Linked DNA regions of Homo sapiens: region 1 is linked to region 2. Evidence: promoter capture Hi-C in 16 types of primary human blood cells and fetal thymus (Javierre and others, 2016). All regions are on one chromosome and are shown on one strand. Each heading gives the region's core, a stretch centred on a gene start or on the middle of the fragment in contact. The rest is flanking DNA. Distances are from core to core; before and after follow the strand shown. Region 1 holds the start of TRV-TAC1-1 (tRNA-Val (anticodon TAC) 1-1). Region 2 holds the start of YPEL4 (yippee like 4).

Region 1 (4,772 bases), core at 156-2,655, 1.9 Mb after region 2:
TATAATTAGCATATAATGAGCAGTGAGGGCACCAGAGGTCACTCTCTTTGCCATCCTGGTTTTGTGGGTTTTGGCCAGCTTCTTTACCACAGCCTGTTTTATCAGAAAGGTCTTTATGACCTGTATCTTGTGCCGACCTCCTATCTCATCCTGTGACTTAGAATGCCTTAATCTCCTGGGAATGCAGCCCAGTAGGTCTCAGCCCTATTTTACCCAGCCCCTATTCAAGATGCAGTTGCTCTGGTTCCAAGGCCTCTGACAGAAGGTTGAAACATTAGAAAATGTTTAACTATACAACAATCAGGAGAAAATATAGAATAATTTTTGAAATATAATCTCAAAGTGAGTAAGTATTTTCTAGGCAGGAAATGTTAAAAGCCCCTCTCCTGCACCCCCCCCAAAAAGATGATGAAATTGACTTCAAAAAAATGTTTAATTTCTACATCGCACGGAATATCAAAAATATAATCAAAAGACAAATGGCAACTCTGGATACATTTGCAAAATATATCCTAAATCTGAATTTACAAAGAGCACCTAAAAACCTATTTATTTATTTATTTATTTAGAGACGGAGTCTCGCTCTGTCACCAGGCTAGAGTACAGTGGCACGATCTCGGCTCACCGCAACCTCCGCCTCCCAGGTTCAAGCGATTCTCCTGCCTCAGCCTCCTGAGTAGCTGGGATTACAGGTGCATGCCACCACACCCAGCTAATTTTTGTATTTTTAGTAAAGACAGGGTTTCACCATGTTGGCCAGGATGGTCTCGATCTCTTGACCTCATGATCCGCCCTCCTCGGCCTCCCAAAGTGCTCAGATTACAGGCGTGAGCCACTGCGCCCGGCCTAAAAACCAATTTAAACATAAATTAACAGAATATATACATAAGAAAATTGAACAAAAGAGGTGAACAGATAGTAGGAAGAAAGGAAGCTTTTAAGTACATGAAAAACGTTCAACCTAACTCACAATAAAAAAACACAAAATAAACCATTTCCAGCTGACTCAAAATTCAGTTATTTTCATTTGAGAGAGACAGGAAGAACAAGGGCTTTCATATTGGTGTGAGTGTAATTTGATACAAGCTGTTTTGAAAGGAGCTGTGGCAGGGTTGGTGGGGACGAGCAGGGAGGTTGGTGGGACGGGTTTGCAGAGGGCGTCTCACTTTTTTGCCCAAGCTGGTTTCAAACTCCTGGGTTCAAGCCATGCTTCCACCTCGGCCTCCCAAAGTGCTGGGATTACAGGTGTGAGCCAGTGCGCCCAGCCATCAATTAAATTTCTTCTGAGACATAAAGGCAACACTCTTCTTGCTTGGGTTGGTACTGTGTTCTGTCCCTGACCAGGGGTGTAACCCTGGGCCATTTCTTAATCTCATTATGCTTCCTCTCCCTCGTCTGTAAAACGGGATAAATAATAATAGAGACATTGTGAACATTAAGTTAGCTACCCATGTAAGTGCCTGTTCAAGGTTTTGCTAGGATTATTTTACATATTGCCCTGCCTGAAACCAAGGAACAAGGAAATCTGCTCAGCATTGTTCCTAAGACTAGATACAATTTAAGTGTTCATCAAAAGGCATAAAGAATTGTGATATATCCAAACACAGGAAGTAAAAGGATAAGCGAAGATGTATGAACGAAATAGGAAGATTTTCAGAATATTGTTGAGGAAATGGGAGCGGTACCTATGTGTGCTACCTTCGTACAAAAAGCGTGAAGTGGGTTTTAAAGTAAATGTACGTGTATACTGGTGAATGCATAGACAATTTCTGAAGGGTCACAAAAGAAACAGCTAACCATTGAAAGATGGGATGGAAACATCAGTTGTGAAATACGTGGAGGGATTCTGAATTCTGTGCATGAAATTAATTTTTCAAAAAGCTTTTTTTTTTTTTTTTTTTTTTTGAGACGGCTCTCTCCCAGGCTGGAGTGCAGTGGCGCGATCTCGGCTCACTGCAAGCTCCGCCTGCCGGGTTCACGCCATTCTCCTGCCTCAACCTCCCGAGTAGAGTAGCTGGGACTACAGGCACCCGCCACCACGCCTGGCTAATTTTTTTGGTATTTTTAGTAGAAACGGGGTTTCACCGTGTTAGCCAGGATGGACACGATCTCCTGACCTCGTGATCCGCCCGCCTCAGCCTCCCAAAGTGCTGGGATTACAGGCATGATCCACCGCGCCTGGCCTCAAAAAGCATTTTTAATTTAAATAAATAAAGTATGAGGGCGGCCTTCGTGATGTCCTTCGACTTAGTGGTGGCAATTTTTAGAGATGGCCCAAGCAAGGCTTAGGAGAAGGTAGGTGAGCCAAGGGGCAACACCCAGGAACCCAGAAGCCGGCTGGCCAGGTAGTGGAAAGGCGCAGGCGCAGGGGCGAGCGAAGCCTCGGTGGAGCGGAGCCGCCTGCACCTCCAGAGAGGCGCCATACGGGGGCCGCCGCGGAGGCCGACTCAGCGCCGAGCGCTAAGAGAAACCGGGCTGATGCAGCAGGCGGGAAACAAGCCGTAGAAATTCTTGAGACACGGGTTCGTCGCCAGCTTCCTGGTGCAAAACCCAACACCTGGCTCACAAAACGCTAGGTAACATCTCATGGTTCCACTGGGGCTCGAACCCAGGACCTTCTGCGTGTAAAGCAGACGTGATAACCACTACACTATGGAACCCCACACGACTAAAACGTTCCTCCAGGATTTGATAATTGTTCAAAAAGACATTTTGGCACTGGGAAATGGTCATGTAGACTTGACATCCGGCGATTGTGCACAGAGAAAAACTTTCAAAAGGATTCCTCATTTTCCAGTATTCAGAGGAGCACGACCGCACAGAAACATTGTCAAAATGTCTGCGTCTCCAGCTTCCTGAACCAAAACCCACGATTGGGCTCGCAAAATGTTAATACTAAACATTATAAAGAAAGGAAAGAAAAGAAAAAGGTATGAATCACGCCGTGGTTCCACTGGGGCTCGAACCCAGGACCTTCTGCGTGTAAAGCAGACGTGATAACCGCTACACTATGGAACCGCGTGCGGAATGGCTGTCTCTGGATTTAGCAATTCTGCATAAAGACATGTTAACAACGTGGACTGAAAGGGATTTACTGCTCAGCGATCACGAAAAGAGAAACTTTCACCAGGATTACAGACTTTCCAGTGTAATTCCTACCCACGCTCTCTTTAGAGACAAAGGTTCCACACTTACTTGTGGAAAGAAAGTGCCTCCCCTGATGTGTTCATCGCGGAGAGGTCGCACGTGTCTGGCTCTGTGGCGCAATGGATAGCGCATTGGACTTCTAGATAGTTAGAGAAATTCAAAGGTTGTGGGTTCGAGTCCCACCAGAGTCGCTTTTTGTTTGAAGAAGAGCAAACGGAAAGTTAGGCGGAGGGAATGGATATAAAATAGATGAAACGAGAACTGTCTACCATTTAAAATTTCCGGAATGATGTGAATTGCAGCTAATTGCAGTTCCTGGTTATGTCCCTTCACTTGAAGGCGTAAAGAATCCCGTTCCTCTATCGAGCCTTTTCTCCTTCACTTTTACCTGGCCCCAGTTTCTAGTGGCGAGATAAAGAAATTAGGGAAATATAATCAAAGTTACCAAGTTTTTTCCCCATATTATTCTTTTATATCAGGAAAAAAAGTAATTTTAAATTGTTCCGAAACTTTAGTCGCCTAGTGTTACCCGAGTTGCTTTAAAATAAAACATTGTTTTATCAGTTACCAGAATGGCCGAGTGGTTAAGGCGTTGGACTTAAGATCCAATGGATTCATATCCGCGTGGGTTCGAACCCCACTTCTGGTAAAGAGGAGTTGTTTTTCCTGGCAAAAACCTTTTTTCCTAATCCTTGACAATCCATTTTGCAATCTTAAGCGTCCAGATAACAATAACTATAGTTAATATCATTTTGCCAGATACCTTACATATAGCGACAGCTTCACAGTTTATGGTTTGAAAAGTAGAAAGAAAACGTCTGAAAAAAAGAAAGAAAACGTCTGGGTCCAGCTATATGGGAGTGAGGGAGCACAGAGCGAGAGGCACATTGTGCTGCAAAAACGTTCACTCCGAGTCGACAGTTATTTCTTGAGATCCTATTACGTGCCAAGTACTGTTCTAAACACTGGGGTTGTGGTGATGTAGGTTTGGTTTTTTTTCTTTTAAAGCAAAACAACAAAAAATACAAGAGCCTTACCATCAAGACCACTGCCCAATGTCACTTACATGACAAAGTGACAGAAGAAAAATATGGTTTAAAAACAAGCAGACAGCCGGGCACGGTGGCTGACGCCTGTAATCCCAGCACTTCGGGAGGACGAGGCGGGTGGATCACCTGAGGTCAGGAGTTTGAGACAAGCCTGGCCAACATGGCGAAACTCTCCGTCTCTACTAAAAATACAAAAATTAGCCGGGCATGGTGGCGCGTGTCTGTAATCCCAGCTACTAGGAGGGCTGAGGCAGGAGGATCGCTTGAACCTGGGAGGCGGAGGTTGCAGTGAGCCGAGGTGGTGCCACTGCACTCCAGCCTGGGCAACAGAGAGAGACTTCGTCTCAAAAAAAAAAAAAAAAAAAAAAAAAAGCAGACAGGTTTGGTGCGGTGGGGCTCACGCCTGCAATCCCAGCGCTTTGGGAGGCCAAGGCAGGAGGATTGCTTGAGGCTAGGGGTTTGCGACCAGCTTGGGCAAGAACGTGAGACACTGTCTATTTTTAAAAAAAATTTTTTTAATTAAAAATAAATAAAAACAACTGGACAAATTGGAGAATTTGAGAGATAGCGATAGGT
Region 2 (4,861 bases), core at 289-2,788:
AGCCTCCGAGTGGCTGAAGGTGCTGGAGGCAGAGGATAAGAAGGGAGGTGGCCCCTGTTGGCTCCGATAAGCAGGTGAGCTGCTGCTTTCTCCTTCATAGGGCTTCCCAGCCCACTGTGGGTGGTTAGCCTAAGTCTGGTTCAGAGATGCCAGCTGGGCACTCTGGCAATGCTAGAGCACTAAGCAGAGAAGAGGCAGTGTTGGCTCTGGTTAGCCAGGGCATACAGGCTCTCCTCGTCCTGTCCTCCGCAGTGGCCACAGGCACCCAGCTGTTCCACTCTCTCTGAAGGCCGCCAGGCAGTCTCTCCGCAAAACCTCCATAGAGACTATCTTCAGTTTCAGGTCCTCTCCTCCGGGCTGGGTCCCAGGAAGACACCTTGGGCTGAGTTCAGGGTGACATTGGGCTCCGGCTGCAGGAAACGGGCCCTCCTTGCCAAGAGACCACCTTTCAGTCTCTGCTTCACAGGTTTGCCTTCAACTTTGCCAGCGAGTTCCCCTCTGACATGCACCACCTTGAAACACCTTCTTCAAGGGGCATGGAGAATGGGGCAGCTTGGGTCCCCAATCCTGAGCTCCTTCTCCAGCCTCCGGCCGTCACGCCTCCCTCCCTCTCCCCTAATTCCCAGTCAAGCCAAGGAAAGGCTGCACAGAAGGCCAGAGAATCACAAAGGGGAGTAGGGGTCATTTTTTCACCCATCTCGGATCACAGGGAGAAGCAAGTTGGGCAAATGACTGGAGAAAAAACAAAGGCAAGCCGAGTGCTGGGGAGAGATGTTCCCCTGAAGTGAGACGGGGCTGGACCGTAGGAGAAAGGGGAGAGGGAGGGCTGGCGGGGGCAACTGACAGCTGACAGCAGAGGCGCCGAGGCGGAGGCTGGAGGAACCAGGTGCGAATCTCGTGCTTCTCAGGGGGGAAAAGAAAAGGGGGGGGACACCTGCTCACAATGGATTTTCTCATCTGCTCTGAGGTTTTGGCACCCCCCAGGCTGGTATTCTCAGTATGGTATGGTCCAAATAATTAGCAGCACCGCCAGCTCCCAGGGCAGGCTTTGGGGGTCTGCACCAGCAGCAAAACAATAAACAGTGATGCCTGATGCTGCAGCCAAAGTTGCCGGGAAATAAGTGCGGGAATCGTCAGAGCTTGGAGAGGGATGGAGGAACCGAGAGAGAGGAGCGGAGGCAGCGGGGAGGGGGAAGGGAGGACAAAGGGTGGATGAATAATGCTTTTGCAAAGGGGAGAAAGCAACACGCAGCAGGAGGAGGAAATTTGCAAAGAGAAAAAAATTCATTTGGAGAAGGGCTGCCCCCTCACCTTGAGGTCTGCTCCAGAGATCTCCGTCTATCTCTCTCTCTCTCTCTCAATCTCTCAATCTCTCTGCTCACTCTTCTCTCTTCTCTTTCCGCTCCTTCAATTGGGAAGGGGATGGGGGTGGGTGGGGGGAGGGTAGTTGGGGGCTCAAGACTGGGGCTGCAAAGCTGGCCAGCTGCTGGGGGGGCAGAGGTTGTCTCTCGTTCTGTACCTCGGTCTGTGGGTGAATGTGGCTGTGTGTTGTGGAACTGCATCATAACACTGTGAGTCATCCATCCCCCCCACCCCCCCTCACCTCCCACGTCAGAGCAGGGCTGGGAGACACAGGAGGCGGGTCGGAAGGAAGGGAGGGGGTAGGCATCAAGGGACGGGGCTAGAGGAGTGGGGGCCGAGGGACAAGGCGGCGATGGTGGGCAAGGGGAGAGGCAGGTTGTTAAGGAGGAAGGCAGTGGGGCCAAGGAGATACGAAGAACCTGGGGGAAGGACAGGGCTGGGCAAGGATGCAGTGAGGGTGGCAGGGCTGGAGGAAAGGAGGTGGCAAGGCTGGTGAAGGAAGAGATGGATGCAGAGTGAGGGAGCACACACACATTTAAGATGATACACTTTCCCATTTCAGCTTGGACACCAGCCCTGAAGCAGGGAAAAGACAGATGTACTAATTGTCATGGATGGCAAACTGTGCCCCCAAACTTGTACCAAGCCTCAAAGCCTTGGTTTAATACTCCTGAAGGAGTAATAGACCCAATGTGACATTTTGCATGCAGGAACCCCTTAACAGCTACCTCCATATTATGCGTGCTTCATGAATGGAGACACCTACGTTATATGAAGTTCTCTATTGGGCTGTAAACTTCCTGAGACAGGCCTTCTGGGAAATTACTCTCTACATCCCAGGACTGCAATGTCCAGTGCAGACCCGTGCATTTAGATGTTTCCAAAATAGCAGTTGTTTCCGCGGCATTATGTTCTGCTGGCCTAGAGGTCTTAGTTCCAGAGGGAGGAATGCTGCCACCAAGAGACACAACAATGATTCCATTAAACTGGAAGTTAAGATTGCCACCTGGCCACTTTGGGCTCTTCTTACTTTTAAGCCAACTTGCTAAGAAGGGAGTTACAGTGTTTGACCCAGACTATCAAGATGAAATCAGTCTACTACTCCACAATGGCGGTAAGGAAGTATGCGTGGAATACAGGAGATCACGTAGGGCGTCTCTTAATATTACCATGCCCTGTGATTAAGGTCAATGGGAAACTGCAACAGCCCAATCCAGGCAGGATGACAAATGGCCCAGACCCTTCAGGAATGAAGGTTTGGGTCACTCCACCAGGTAAAAAAAACATAATCTGCTGAGGTGCTTGCTGAAGGCAAACGGAATTCAGAATGGGTAGTCAAAGAAGGTAGTCATCAATACGAACTATGACCATGTGACCAGCTGCAGAAAATGAGGACTGTAATTGTCATGAGTATTTCCTCCTCCTTTTGTTAGGAACATGTTTGTGCATATATACACTTGTATTAAGAAAATATCTTCATTTTATTTCCTTTCTTTTGCCTTTATCATGTGACATAAGACTTACTGACTTGATATCAGCACTTAAGTGTTGTTAACTCTATGTAATAGCATTTGGGTTGGGGATTGGTGCGTTTCCGGTTGTACAAAGGATAGCTGTATTATGTTAAGCGTAATTATGACCTTATTATTGTCTTTATTTGAAGATCATGTATGATTTCAGGAGACGTGTATGGGTTCAAGTTGACAAGGGGTGGACTGGTGATGGTTAATATTGTCAACTAGATTGGATTGAAAGATGCAAAGTATTGTTCCTGGGTGTGTCTGTGAGGGTATTGCCAAAGGCGATTAACATTTGAGTCAATGGACTAGGAAAGGCAGACCCACCTCAATCTGGATGGGCACAATGTAATCAACTGTCAGCTAGGCCAGAATAAAAGCAGACAGAAGAACGTGGAAAGACCAGACTGGTTTAGCCTCTGAGCCTACGTCTTTCTCCCATGCTGGACGCTTCCTGCCCTCGAATATTGAACTCCAAGGTCTTCAACTTTGGGATTCGGACTGGCTTCCTTGCCCCTCAGCTTGCAGGCAGCCTACTGTGGGACCTCATCTGGTGATCATCTGAGTCAATATTCCGTAATAACTCTGATTTATATATACATCTATCCTATTAGTTCTATCCCGCTAGAGAACTCTGATTAATAGAGCAGTTGAGTTGCATCTTCAGACATGAACCAAGTGTCTGGCTTTGGTCTCAAAGAGACTGAATTAGACTCTTAGCTCTGCCAATTACTTGGCAGGAACCACTAGGCAAATTACTGATAATCTTTGTGCCTTAGTCTTACTCTTCTGCTAAATGAAGCTAATAATATTTATTATTATTAGCTCATGGAGATGCAGAATAAAGTGAGATAACATTTAAATGCCTGAAAAATGCCTGGCACATGATAGGCAGTAAACAGTAGTGTCATTTCAAAACAACATTCTCGCCAGGTGCGGTGGTTCACGCCTGTAATCCCAGCACTTTGGGAGGCCGAGGCAGGCAGATCACAAGGTCAGGAGATCGAGACCATCCTGGCCAACATGGTGAAATCCCCATCCCTAATAAATAACAAAAATTAGCTGGACATGGTGGCACGTGCCTGTAATCCCAGCTACTCGAGAGCCTGAGGCAGGAGAATCGCTTGAACAGGAAGTCAGAGGTTGCGGTAAGCTGAGATGGCGCCACTGTACTCACAGAGGTTGCAGTGAGCCGATCGCGCCAGCCTGGTGACAGAGCGAGACTCTGTTTCAAAAAAAAAAAAAGCATTCTTGGCTGGGTGAGGTGGCTCACACCTTGTAATCCCAGCACTTTGGGAGGCCGAGGTAGGCGAATCACCTGAGGTTGGGAGTTCGAGACCAGCCTGGACAACGTGGTGAAACCCCCCTCTCTACTAAAAATACAAAAAATTAGCCAGGTGTGATGGCGTATGCCTGTAATCACAGCTACTTGGGAGGCTGAGGCAGAAGAATCGCTTGAACCCAGGAGGCGGAGGTTGCAGTGAGCCAAGATGGGACCACTGCACTCTAGCCTGGGCAACAAAGAGAGACTCCGTCTCAAAAAAAAAAACAAAACCAAAAAAACAAAAGTGAAACCAAAACAGCATTCTCAATGTATGACCCCCAAAACCCAGGGAGGATTTATTATTAAATTCTGATATCTCAAGAGACACATGCCAAATTTTTGTCTTATGAAGACATTACATCTTTTGTTGCTATTTTTCTAGCAGCTTCCAGTTAAATTTCATTTGACTCAGAATTCATTTCTCATGGGGTGCTGTCCTGTGCATGTTACTAAAGTATGTGAACACAGAACATATCCCCTAAGACAAAAACCCTGATTTCTAACAGAGTCTAGCATTTAGCAAATGAAGTACGACAAAGATAGGGACTTCTAGAAAGCAGTGCTTGGGGGTGGTTTGTTTTTCTTCTCACACGTAAAGAGGGAAAAAAAAGTTAAGGCAGAGAAATGTGGGTAATGGGAGACATTGCTAGTTGAGCAT

The links. The method cuts DNA at HindIII sites, captures the fragments that hold promoters and counts their contacts. A CHiCAGO score of 5 or more calls a contact.
Region 1: a fragment that was not itself captured here is called in contact with the fragment with the promoter of YPEL4 in region 2 in 1 of 17 cell types (activated CD4 T cells); the score reaches 6.5 in activated CD4 T cells.

Annotation. Positions count from the first base shown.
Region 1 is chr11:59,548,042-59,552,813 of GRCh38, forward strand. TRV-TAC1-1 (tRNA-Val (anticodon TAC) 1-1) reads right to left here and starts at 2,660; the gene lies at 2,588-2,660. All of the region lies in intron 3 of LOC102723575 (a long non-coding RNA gene), which reads left to right. TRV-TAC2-1 (tRNA-Val (anticodon TAC) 2-1) reads right to left here and starts at 3,018; the gene lies at 2,946-3,018. TRR-TCT3-2 (tRNA-Arg (anticodon TCT) 3-2) reads left to right here and starts at 3,253; the gene lies at 3,253-3,338. It also overlaps TRL-TAA3-1. RefSeq lists enhancers at 2,257-2,476, 2,632-3,133. The HindIII fragment of the contact is 947 bases long and covers 933-1,879 here.
Region 2 is chr11:57,648,374-57,653,234 of GRCh38, forward strand. YPEL4 (yippee like 4) reads right to left here and starts at 1,539. Exons shown (of 5, transcript NM_145008.3): 1 at 1,312-1,539. It overlaps MIR130AHG (MIR130A host gene), which reads left to right. Exons shown (of 2, transcript NR_186232.1): 2 at 1,925-4,528. RefSeq lists an enhancer at 1-50. The HindIII fragment of the contact is 14,007 bases long and covers 1-4,861 here.